Regions from separate parts of the Homo sapiens genome. Here all the other regions are linked to region 1. The links are contacts of gene promoters, found by promoter capture Hi-C in blood cells and fetal thymus (Javierre and others, 2016). All regions are on one chromosome and are shown on one strand. Each heading gives the region's core, a stretch centred on a gene start or on the middle of the fragment in contact. The rest is flanking DNA. Distances are from core to core; before and after follow the strand shown. Region 1 holds the start of CCDC91 (coiled-coil domain containing 91). Region 2 holds the start of IRAG2 (inositol 1,4,5-triphosphate receptor associated 2). Region 3 overlaps SINHCAF (SIN3-HDAC complex associated factor).

Region 1 (2,976 bases), core at 320-2,819:
TTAGTATTGAATATCGGGACAGAGTGAACATGTAAGTACATCAATGGGAAGGAACTCCCAGAAACTAATCTGGTTTCCAGCAGAAAGAGATATGAGAGACAAAATAATATAAAGGTAACCTTACTAAGTTTAAGAAATATTTATGAATACCTTTTTTCTAACTACTAGACACTTTGCTAGACTGCTGGATACACAAAGACAAATGAGAAGTGAGTAGATTGCTGGATATACAAGTGAGAAGTGGTCCTTGACTTGGTAGTCTAGTAGACAGATAAAAAAATATGTGTAAGAAAGCATTACATTTCTTACAATAGAAATGTTTTTTGTATGCATAAAGAAGGGGGTGGGCTGGAAAAAGAATGTAGTCAAGGTGACTTGCTCAATACTGAAACTGCTCATTAACTACTTAGGCCAGCACTTATGGCAGACTTGTCAGGATGCCTTGCTAATATTTTCCACTTCCAGTACAGAACAGAGATTACAGGTTTAAGCCAATTTTGTTCAACAGATGAGAAACCCAGTGTCCAAGGATGAAAGAATACTTGTTATACAAGGAATGTGAATATTCCAGAGATTTATGCTCAAAGTCCCCAGGTTAGTGTCTTTCTTTCTCACTAGACTGTAAGCTTCTTGAAGACAAATATCTTGAGTGTTACCTTGCTCACTCTTGAATTGTCAAAACTTGGCCCAGGACTAGGTATGTGGTATACAATCAATAAAAATTTGTTGAATGAATGTTCTTCAAAATCCTTCCATGGCAAAAACAGAAGAAACATTCACGAGTGGACTGCTAGTTGACTGTTTCTCTCATCGCTATTGACAGTCTGAAATGGACAAAGACATCTATATAATCATTCCTTCCTTTCAAATAAATAATCTGTGAATTACGCTATTCTTTTCCTATTGCTTCAGGACAAGCTATTTGACAGAAAGCTTTTAAGAAAGGCTTTGCAAGAAAACTCTGCAACAGAGATGGCACGTATGAATTGCTGTGATCTGGAGTTGAAGACAAGAACAAAAGTAACTCTAGAGCAGAATTCTTTGACCAAAGTCATCTTACTGGTTGGCGGAGGCTCTCAGTCTACTTGCATCCGGTGCTTGAGAGTTCAGACAGGCAAAGATGAGAGGTAGCATCTAGTCAACATCCATTTCTTGAGCACTTACTACATGTCAGCCACTTTGCTTAGTCCCCGGTTTTACTGTGCTCTGCTAGGAAGTGGTGAAGAGATTCGGCGGGATCTTCTTAGGACCAATCCTACAAAGTTCCAGATGGAACTCATTTTGATTTGGGGGACGGTTTACTTGCAGGGATTAGGTGGAGAAACAGGGCCTGCTACTCAAGAGGAATGAGAAACTGTAACTAACAGGAGGTAGACTGGGAAGGAGCATGGCAAAGTCACCCCTTTTCACAGGGCAACGCTCCAAAGACCACGCTCAAGCTGGGGTGGCAGGGCTCTGAACATGGGGCCCCGACCCGGGCCTCGGCCTGGGGCCACGTGACGCGCGTGTTTACGTTGAGTGACGGGCGCTGTGTTGGGCGGGCCTTGGCGGAAATCAACTTCCGGGGGCAGAGGTGTTCGAAGCCGGGTGGTGCGTGGGCTACCCCAACCTGTGTGGCTGGGCCGCGGTCTCCCCTCAAGGGCCTGGGGCCGTGCCTCGGGTGTACGCGTAGGGGTCTGTGTGCTGGGGGTGGCTCACCGGGCAGCGTGGGTGAGCGGCGCAGCGGCGGCAGCGGAGAGCGAGAGAGGGGAGCAGGTAAGTGAACGCTCGCCTTCCGGGGCCTGGGTCTTGGGGTCGGGGCCGCGCGAGGCGAGCGGAGAGCGCCCCACCGGGGGAGGAGCGCGGACGAGCTTCCGCCGCCTGCAGCCCGCCTGCTGCGGCCTCGCCCTTGGCTGTCGCAGCGACCAGGAGTCAGGGGGCGTGACCAACCTCCTGCGGGAACGGAGCCAGCTCCCGGGGGTGGGAGTGCCCACTCGTTCCTGCGCTCGCCGGTGGGTACCGGTATCTGCACGTCCCAGAATCGAGTGTTTTCGAAAGTCTACGCCCACGAACACGTGATTATTGTGTCACCGAAGCGCCTACCGAACGGAGACCTTGATTCTTGCTTAGATTACACAGAACGCGCCTGGTTTATGTATCCCCTTTTACTTTGCCAAGTACATTGGGGTAAAAGCTCTACAGCGTCTGCCAGCCACATTTCCTTAGAGTTTCTTGGGCCACATGTTGCAATAAAAGTGGCATTTCAGGGTCAAGGCAGGAGCCAGTAACTTTGCCAAGTGGTGAGGTATCCTTCGTCCCCGTTAGCACGCCTCCCTTTCCCAACAATAAAGATATTTTCTCCATCTGCGCGTGTCGCCTACTGCGGAGGAAAGCTTTGGACATGAAACCTATTTTTGGCTTCACTTTAAGGAGTGGAACTCTATTAAAAGCTGCGCTGGTGTTTTTTTGGTAGGATGATGTTGCTGCTGCTACTCTCACTTGCTTCCTTGATGAGAGTTGGGGCAGAGCTCGATTTCCTGGAGGGTAAAGTCTTGGCCACAATTTTAGGTGACTCAGCGGCCCCTTATGAATTCTGACTCTTTCCTTCCCTCCCCTCTCAGCTGTGCGGATACTGATGCCACCTTTCTCTCCAAATATTAATCCGGGTGGGAGTTGGATGATGGTTTTTGGAAGCAGTTTGCATGTTGCGTGGTGGAGTTATTGGAGTGGGCTGACATTTTACTTCACAATTTAAGGCAACCCTTCCCCCCCCCACAATATTTAGTTGGGTGGGGTGACAGGGACTGACAACAAATTCGCTGTTGTGTTCCCTGCTGTCGGAGAGTTCTACACTTAATGATCACCTGATTGCCCTCTGCTACAATTTCTATTGCGTTGAGGGGATTGGTTATACTGTCTGTACCTATTAGGTAAATGTAGTAAGGGTCATGCCAGGCAGAGTGCACCTGCATGGTGTTGGCTAACCAGTAAACTGTG
Region 2 (2,976 bases), core at 133-2,632, 3.1 Mb before region 1:
GCAGTGAGCTGAGATCGCGCCAGTGCACTCCAGCCTGGAGACAGAGCGAGACTCCGTCTCAAAAAAAACAAACAAACAAACAAACAAAAAAAAACAGTTACAGAGTTTTCTCAAAATATTAAAAATTAAACTACCATCTGATCTAGGAACCCCACTTCTGGGTATTTATCCAAAATAATTAAAATCAGCACCTGGAAGAGCTATTTGCATTCCCATATTCACTGCGGCATTATTCTCAATAGCCAAGATTTGGAAACAACCTGAATGTCCACGGATGATTGGATAAAGAAAATTTGGTATATAAATACAAGGGAATATTATCCAACCTTTAAAAAGAAGGAAATTCTGCCACATATGACAACATAGATAAACCTGGAGGACACTATCCCAAGTAAAATAAGTGAGTCACAGAACAACAAATACTGCACGATCCCACTTCTCTGAGGTATCTAAAATAGTTAAACTAATAGAAAGAGAGAGAATAGTGGTTGCCAGGAGCTAGGGGAGGGGAAATGAGGAGTTGCTACTCAATAGGTATAAAGTTTCAGTTATGCAAGATGAAGATGTTCTAGAGATCTGCTGTACAACATTATGCCTGTAGTTAATAATACTGTATTGTACACTTAAAAATTTGTTAAGTGGGTAAATCTCCTGTTAAATGTTCCTGCCACAGTTAAAGAAAAAGAGAGAAAAAGAGAGTGAGAGAGACAACGATAAGCTATTGAAGGACGCTCAGTGGAAAGTGTGGTGATGTAGGCAGTTTTTATTTTTGCTTAGGATTTTGTTTGCTTGTTTACCAGTATGGTAAGCATTCTGTGAGACCATTCTTGCCTCTCATGTGGTCCTTCGTGTAACCAGGGCTGGATTTGTGCCAGTGTGCAGTGGCATTCTGACTAAATGTTAACGTTTGAGAGGCATGCACAAGGCCTACGGCTGACAATGTCTTCCTTGCTGTTTTGCAACTCCCGACATTTATCACCACTTTGAGTTAAGGTCCATATTCAAGTCAGATTGTTTCCAGATAATCATTGAGGTACTGGCATGTAACACACATTAAATAATCTCATCTGCTAACAGAGAGTAAGTGCATTTTTACATGTTTTAGAGATTAGAATTGGATCCAAATGAGGTGTAACGTAATGGCACCATGAGATCTGTGGTGGGGAAGGGTGATGGGGAGAAAAGCTTCAGCAAAAAGAGGACTAAAGTAGAAATATCAACCGCCAGCTTTCATCTGTGCCTGGGGGCGGTCCTTCCTGTGCTCGTGGCACGTGTTTATACTATGATTGACAACCCTTAAGGAGAAAGGCTAAGGTCATGAAACAAAGCTCTCTTTCCTTTTCTTTTCCCTCCCCCTACCTTTACCCCATTCCTTTCTTTTTCTGTAAAAGCTAGCTGTGATGTGTAAATGTTGCACCTGTCACCCTGACCTCATTGTAGAGCCATCTTCTGAGTAACTGGCAACTGGCAACTGATGCTAAGTGCTATGAATGCAGCTGGTGGGAACTGAACACACCAGTGTAAAAGATGAAACTAGAAGTCCTTATCTGTAAAGTGAGGGTGTCAGGCTAAGCGACCAATAAGCTTTGCTTAAGATTTTATATTTGTGAAGCATTTATATGTAAATACTTTCACTTTTTCCTCTGATCTCTAAGGAAGTGGTGTTAAGTTTGAGTTTGTCATAATTTCACAGGGTGACTCTTAGTTGAAATGTCACTGACAGCTTGCGGTTTGGACTTTTTTTTTTTTTTTTTTTTTTAACTCCAGTCAGAAACAACTAGAAGCCATTAAACAACTACAGGAAGATGCTGTCAACCAGGAAGGCATCCTTAGGAAGAGGCTCCAAGAAACCAGCCAACGGCTGGAGGATGTGGAGGAGCAGGTAGGGTGGCTCATGGCTACATTAGATTCAGGGGACATCTCCTCAGATGCCCTGCAAACCATGAAATAAAAATGGAGGAGGAACAACAACAACAAACAAAAAAAAAAAGCAAAGAGGAACTGCAAGTTCAGTCCCTAGCGACTAACAGTGAGCAGAGGAAGTAAAGGGGGAGTTGTAAGAGAGGCGGTATCAACAGCCTGCTGATGAAAGAGGCGACTCTGCAGAAAGAGGCAACTTGACATATCAGGACTTTAACCGCTGTAGAAATAGCTCAGGCATACCAAGCCCATGCAAACACAGAATTGCAGAAGTTCAGGAGAGGCTTATCACTTCCCTGAGAAGAAAAACACATTTTCAGTTTTGCCTGCATCATAAGAGTGAGCACTCCATTGCTTTCTTTCCTGGCCACACTGCTACAATCCAGCACTAACTATCCATGTCCAGGGTAAGGATCGAGATCGAGAAGCCCACACTGCCAGTGAAAAAGCTACGTCTTTACTGCATAAATTAGAGGAAGCAATTTCGGAACAACGGAACCTTCAAACTATAAATACTGAATTATCGAACACTTGCCAGGCACTTCAGCAGAAGACAAGGAAACTGAAGAGTGAGTAGCAAATATTCATTTATGACCCAGTTTTTGTCCACCCTCAGGCGGGGCATAGGACTACAGACATTTTTCTAGATTACAGCTAGGATATTATTCCTGAGTTTATGACAATGAAATGGTTTGAGAAGGCAATATTGTGGGGCTTTCAGAGAGGTTTGCTGAGTGGCTAGGTGCATGCATGGGTTTAACCATTAACTTCCCTTTTTGCCTTTTTATTATAAGCTGGTTTTGTCTGTGGCTGTTTTTTTCTTTTAAAATTAATTAAAACTTCTCAAAATTTCTAAAAGTAAACAAGGAGAAAAATCTAGTATGCATGGTATATTTGAACTTGCAAGTTGTTATATATTATACTCTGATTTTATTAGCTAGTTTTTTTCCTCTCATATGGTAGAAAAGGCCTTGCTCGTCTATTTTCTTTGGAAATTTTAGGGGGTTGGGCAAAATAATTATGAATTCAGTGTATATCAAAATATCAAATGTGTGA
Region 3 (2,976 bases), core at 200-2,699, 3.1 Mb after region 1:
CAAGTTGAACAGTAGTAATACAGTATAATCTCACAGGATGTTTTTAAAATGAGACTGTAACTACACAAACTTCTTTTTAAATTGGTTCTTAAAAATAGTAAATAGTGGTTGCCTCTGAGGAGTACAAGCATAAAAGAAGCTTACTTTCACTTTACTACCTCCTGCTTTTTTTTTTTTAACCAAGAGCATCACTCTCCAATAACCTTGGTTATCAAGACACACCTTAAGAGTAATCTAAAAAAGCACAGAGAGCTTAAATAAACTTCCTCAAAGACATACAGATGGAGAGATACAAATTAGAAAATACACTCCATGGGAGAGACTACGAAATAGACTGGTAAGATCTAAATACACACAGAGCAGAATGGGAAGGAAACTGCAGACAGGAGACAAGCGAAAGATTTGTAAAGTGGGAAGGAAGCAGCAGTGAACAAAGACAAAAAGAACTAAGCAACCAAAGACAACTTTGAAGTGAAGGAGATGCATTTCTTTAGAGCCAAACTAGAAATCATGATGATGGGAAAGGAAAAGAAATAACACGAAAAAATACTCGCGATCACAAACTGTGGGGATACTTGAGTTCCTGTAATTGGTAATGCCACCACTGACACCATTTTAGTCAATCATATGCTATCATTAATCACATTTAAGTACAGCATCCAGTAAACACTAACAGTGTAACTGGAGCAACACTTTTCACAAACGGTCAACAGGACTAAATGCTTTGTATTCTCCCGCGGCTAGGCTATTTGGCTGCAGTATTCCCCAATAATGAGACATGTTTCATCTGCAGTTAAGGAAACCCATGGAGCAGTAAGACATTATTTCCTCTTACCTGCTTCTAGATAGCAGCCTACATCTCAGCAAAATTCCTGAATTTAGCTAACTTTAAGGGATAAATGTAAATCTGTCTAGAATAAAACTGAGAAAGGGGTAGCAGACCCCACTTGTTTGCCAACAGCCTCTTCAAACATGTGCCCTGTCTCTGAGAAATTATATGGTAAAGCATTTATAACTGTGGCTGTCTATGGAATCCACACTTGGCAGAAGAGCCTAAAACTCATCCTATATAGGAAAGAGGTCAAACTCAGAAATAAACAAGTCTTCAACTGAAATGGCATAGGTTAAAAATAAAATTACAAATTCAAGTCTCTGGGCTTTAGATAGTGTAAAACACCAGGCCCCTCCAATTTTGGTAGAGCGAAAAAAAAAAAAAGAGAAACAAAACTAGGTCTCCCAATTCTAGATTAAGAGGAATTCCAGTACATGAAAAAAAAAACTGAAAGTGTCAGAAAGAATATTTATTTGCTTTTAATGGATGATTATGAGTTAGAAAATATAACCATACTTGGGTCTGCAATGAGTCAATTTGGAGTATATTTCTGCTTCTGTCTTTACAACTAAATAGGAAGTCACTCCTAATTTTATTTGCCCTTCTGTAACATTGGGAAATTCTGTTTATTTCCTTGAATTTATAAGAGTTGCACATTACAGAAAAATAAATGCTATCTATCCCAAGATATATACAACAAATTTAACTGAAGGTAAAATTCTGATTACTAAAGATTTTCTTTTAAGCCCAGGTCTGTGGGAAAAGAGGAACTTAGCCTTTTCAGGGAGACTTTAAGGTCATGAAAAGCCCCATATACTCCTCTATGAAGCTGTTCTCCCATTTTCAAACTTGAGAAAAATGTTAAGAAAATGGATACATGATAGTATACACACCTGATTTGACCCAAACCTCAGGAAAGTTCCTTAACCTCACTAATCCTGTTTCCTCATCTATAAAATAATGACAGGCCGGGCACAGTGGCTCACGCCTGTAATCCCAGCACTATGGGAGGCAGAGGCAGGTGGATCACCTGGTCAGGAGTTCGAGACCAGTCTGGCTAACATGGTGAAACACCGTTTCTACTAAAAATACAAAAAATTAGCCCAGCCTGGTGGCGTGCGCCTGTAATCCCAGCTACTCAGGAGGCTGAGGCAGGAGAATTGCCTGAACCCAGAGGCAGAGGTTGCAGTGAGCCAAGATCGCACCACTGAACTCCAGTTTAGGCAACAAGAGCAAAGCTCAGTCTCAAAATAATAATGACAAATCCAAATCTCCTGAATAGTATCTGTAAAGCATCAACACAACATCAACACAAAGATCGGCACAAGGTATGCACTCAGCTCTGACAATTCTTTTTACTCACCAATCTTTCTTCTTTCTCTCTTTTTTTCCTCTTACATTTCAGGTATCATTTTGCTTTCTGTCTTTGGGCAATCCACTCGCAGGAAGTTACTAACCAACCTTATTGGTAATACCTATTATTCATTCCCTGGTCCAATCTCTCCCCTTAGCTCTAGGATAAATATGGCCAACTGACCACCAATCCATTCCAATCTTTAAATACCCTGAGAATTGATTATATAATCTTCCCTCCAAATCTGCTCTTCCTCTATTTACCTATCTTGGTTGTCATCCACAGTCACACAAAAACAACTTGGAAGCCAACTGAGCTCTTCCTTCACCCTCTGCATGGCCCTCCATCAAATTTATTGTGAAGTCCTTAGAAATTCTGTTTCTTCCTTCACTTCCATCCCCACTGCCTGTTTGTTCCTCATCATGGTGCATGAACTCCTGTCAGAACCTTGTAACTGACTTCCCTACATCCTTTAAACATGTGATATCTTCCTAAAGTTCAACTACTAATCTTCCCTTCCAAGGTACCAACACTGGCTTCATGATAGTATCTAAACTCCTTGGCAAGGAATTCAAAGCTTTTCAGGATCTGCTCCTGCCTACCAGCTGCTCCCAACTTGGAATTCTGATATTCTAGGAGTGTCAAACAAACTTTAATAACTAGCCACCCTCTACTCAGGCTGTTATTTCTGCCTGAGACGGCTTACCCTCTATCCCCTTGACCTGGGAAATTCTCTTAAGAATTACTTATTTTACAAAACCCTTCCATACCTTTATTAGAACACCTACCA

Evidence for each region. The method cuts DNA at HindIII sites, captures the fragments that hold promoters and counts their contacts. A CHiCAGO score of 5 or more calls a contact.
Region 2: a fragment that was not itself captured here is called in contact with the fragment with the promoter of CCDC91 in region 1 in 3 of 17 cell types (naive CD8 T cells, total CD4 T cells and fetal thymus); the score reaches 7.6 in naive CD8 T cells.
Region 3: a contact is called between a fragment that was not itself captured here and the fragment with the promoter of CCDC91 in region 1, in 2 of 17 cell types (fetal thymus and naive CD4 T cells). The highest score is 5.1, in fetal thymus.

The regions. Positions count from the first base shown.
Region 1 is chr12:28,188,887-28,191,862 of GRCh38, forward strand. It overlaps CCDC91 (coiled-coil domain containing 91), which reads left to right and starts at 1,570. Exons shown (of 13, transcript NM_018318.5): 1 at 1,570-1,755. LOC729291 (a long non-coding RNA gene) reads right to left here and starts at 1,852. Exons shown (of 1, transcript NR_148936.1): 1 at 1-1,852. RefSeq lists silencers at 1,537-1,586, 1,617-2,046, 2,730-2,976. The HindIII fragment of the contact is 1,439 bases long and covers 932-2,370 here.
Region 2 is chr12:25,050,468-25,053,443 of GRCh38, forward strand. It overlaps IRAG2 (inositol 1,4,5-triphosphate receptor associated 2), which reads left to right and starts at 2,239. Exons shown (of 22, transcript NM_001366544.2): 1 at 2,239-2,489. RefSeq lists enhancers at 1,594-1,703, 1,744-2,113. The HindIII fragment of the contact is 399 bases long and covers 1,184-1,582 here.
Region 3 is chr12:31,317,449-31,320,424 of GRCh38, forward strand. The region is part of intron 1 of SINHCAF (SIN3-HDAC complex associated factor); the gene reads right to left. Among named protein-coding and RNA genes, the nearest start is that of FLJ13224, 5.4 kb to the right of the region's middle. The HindIII fragment of the contact is 2,624 bases long and covers 138-2,761 here.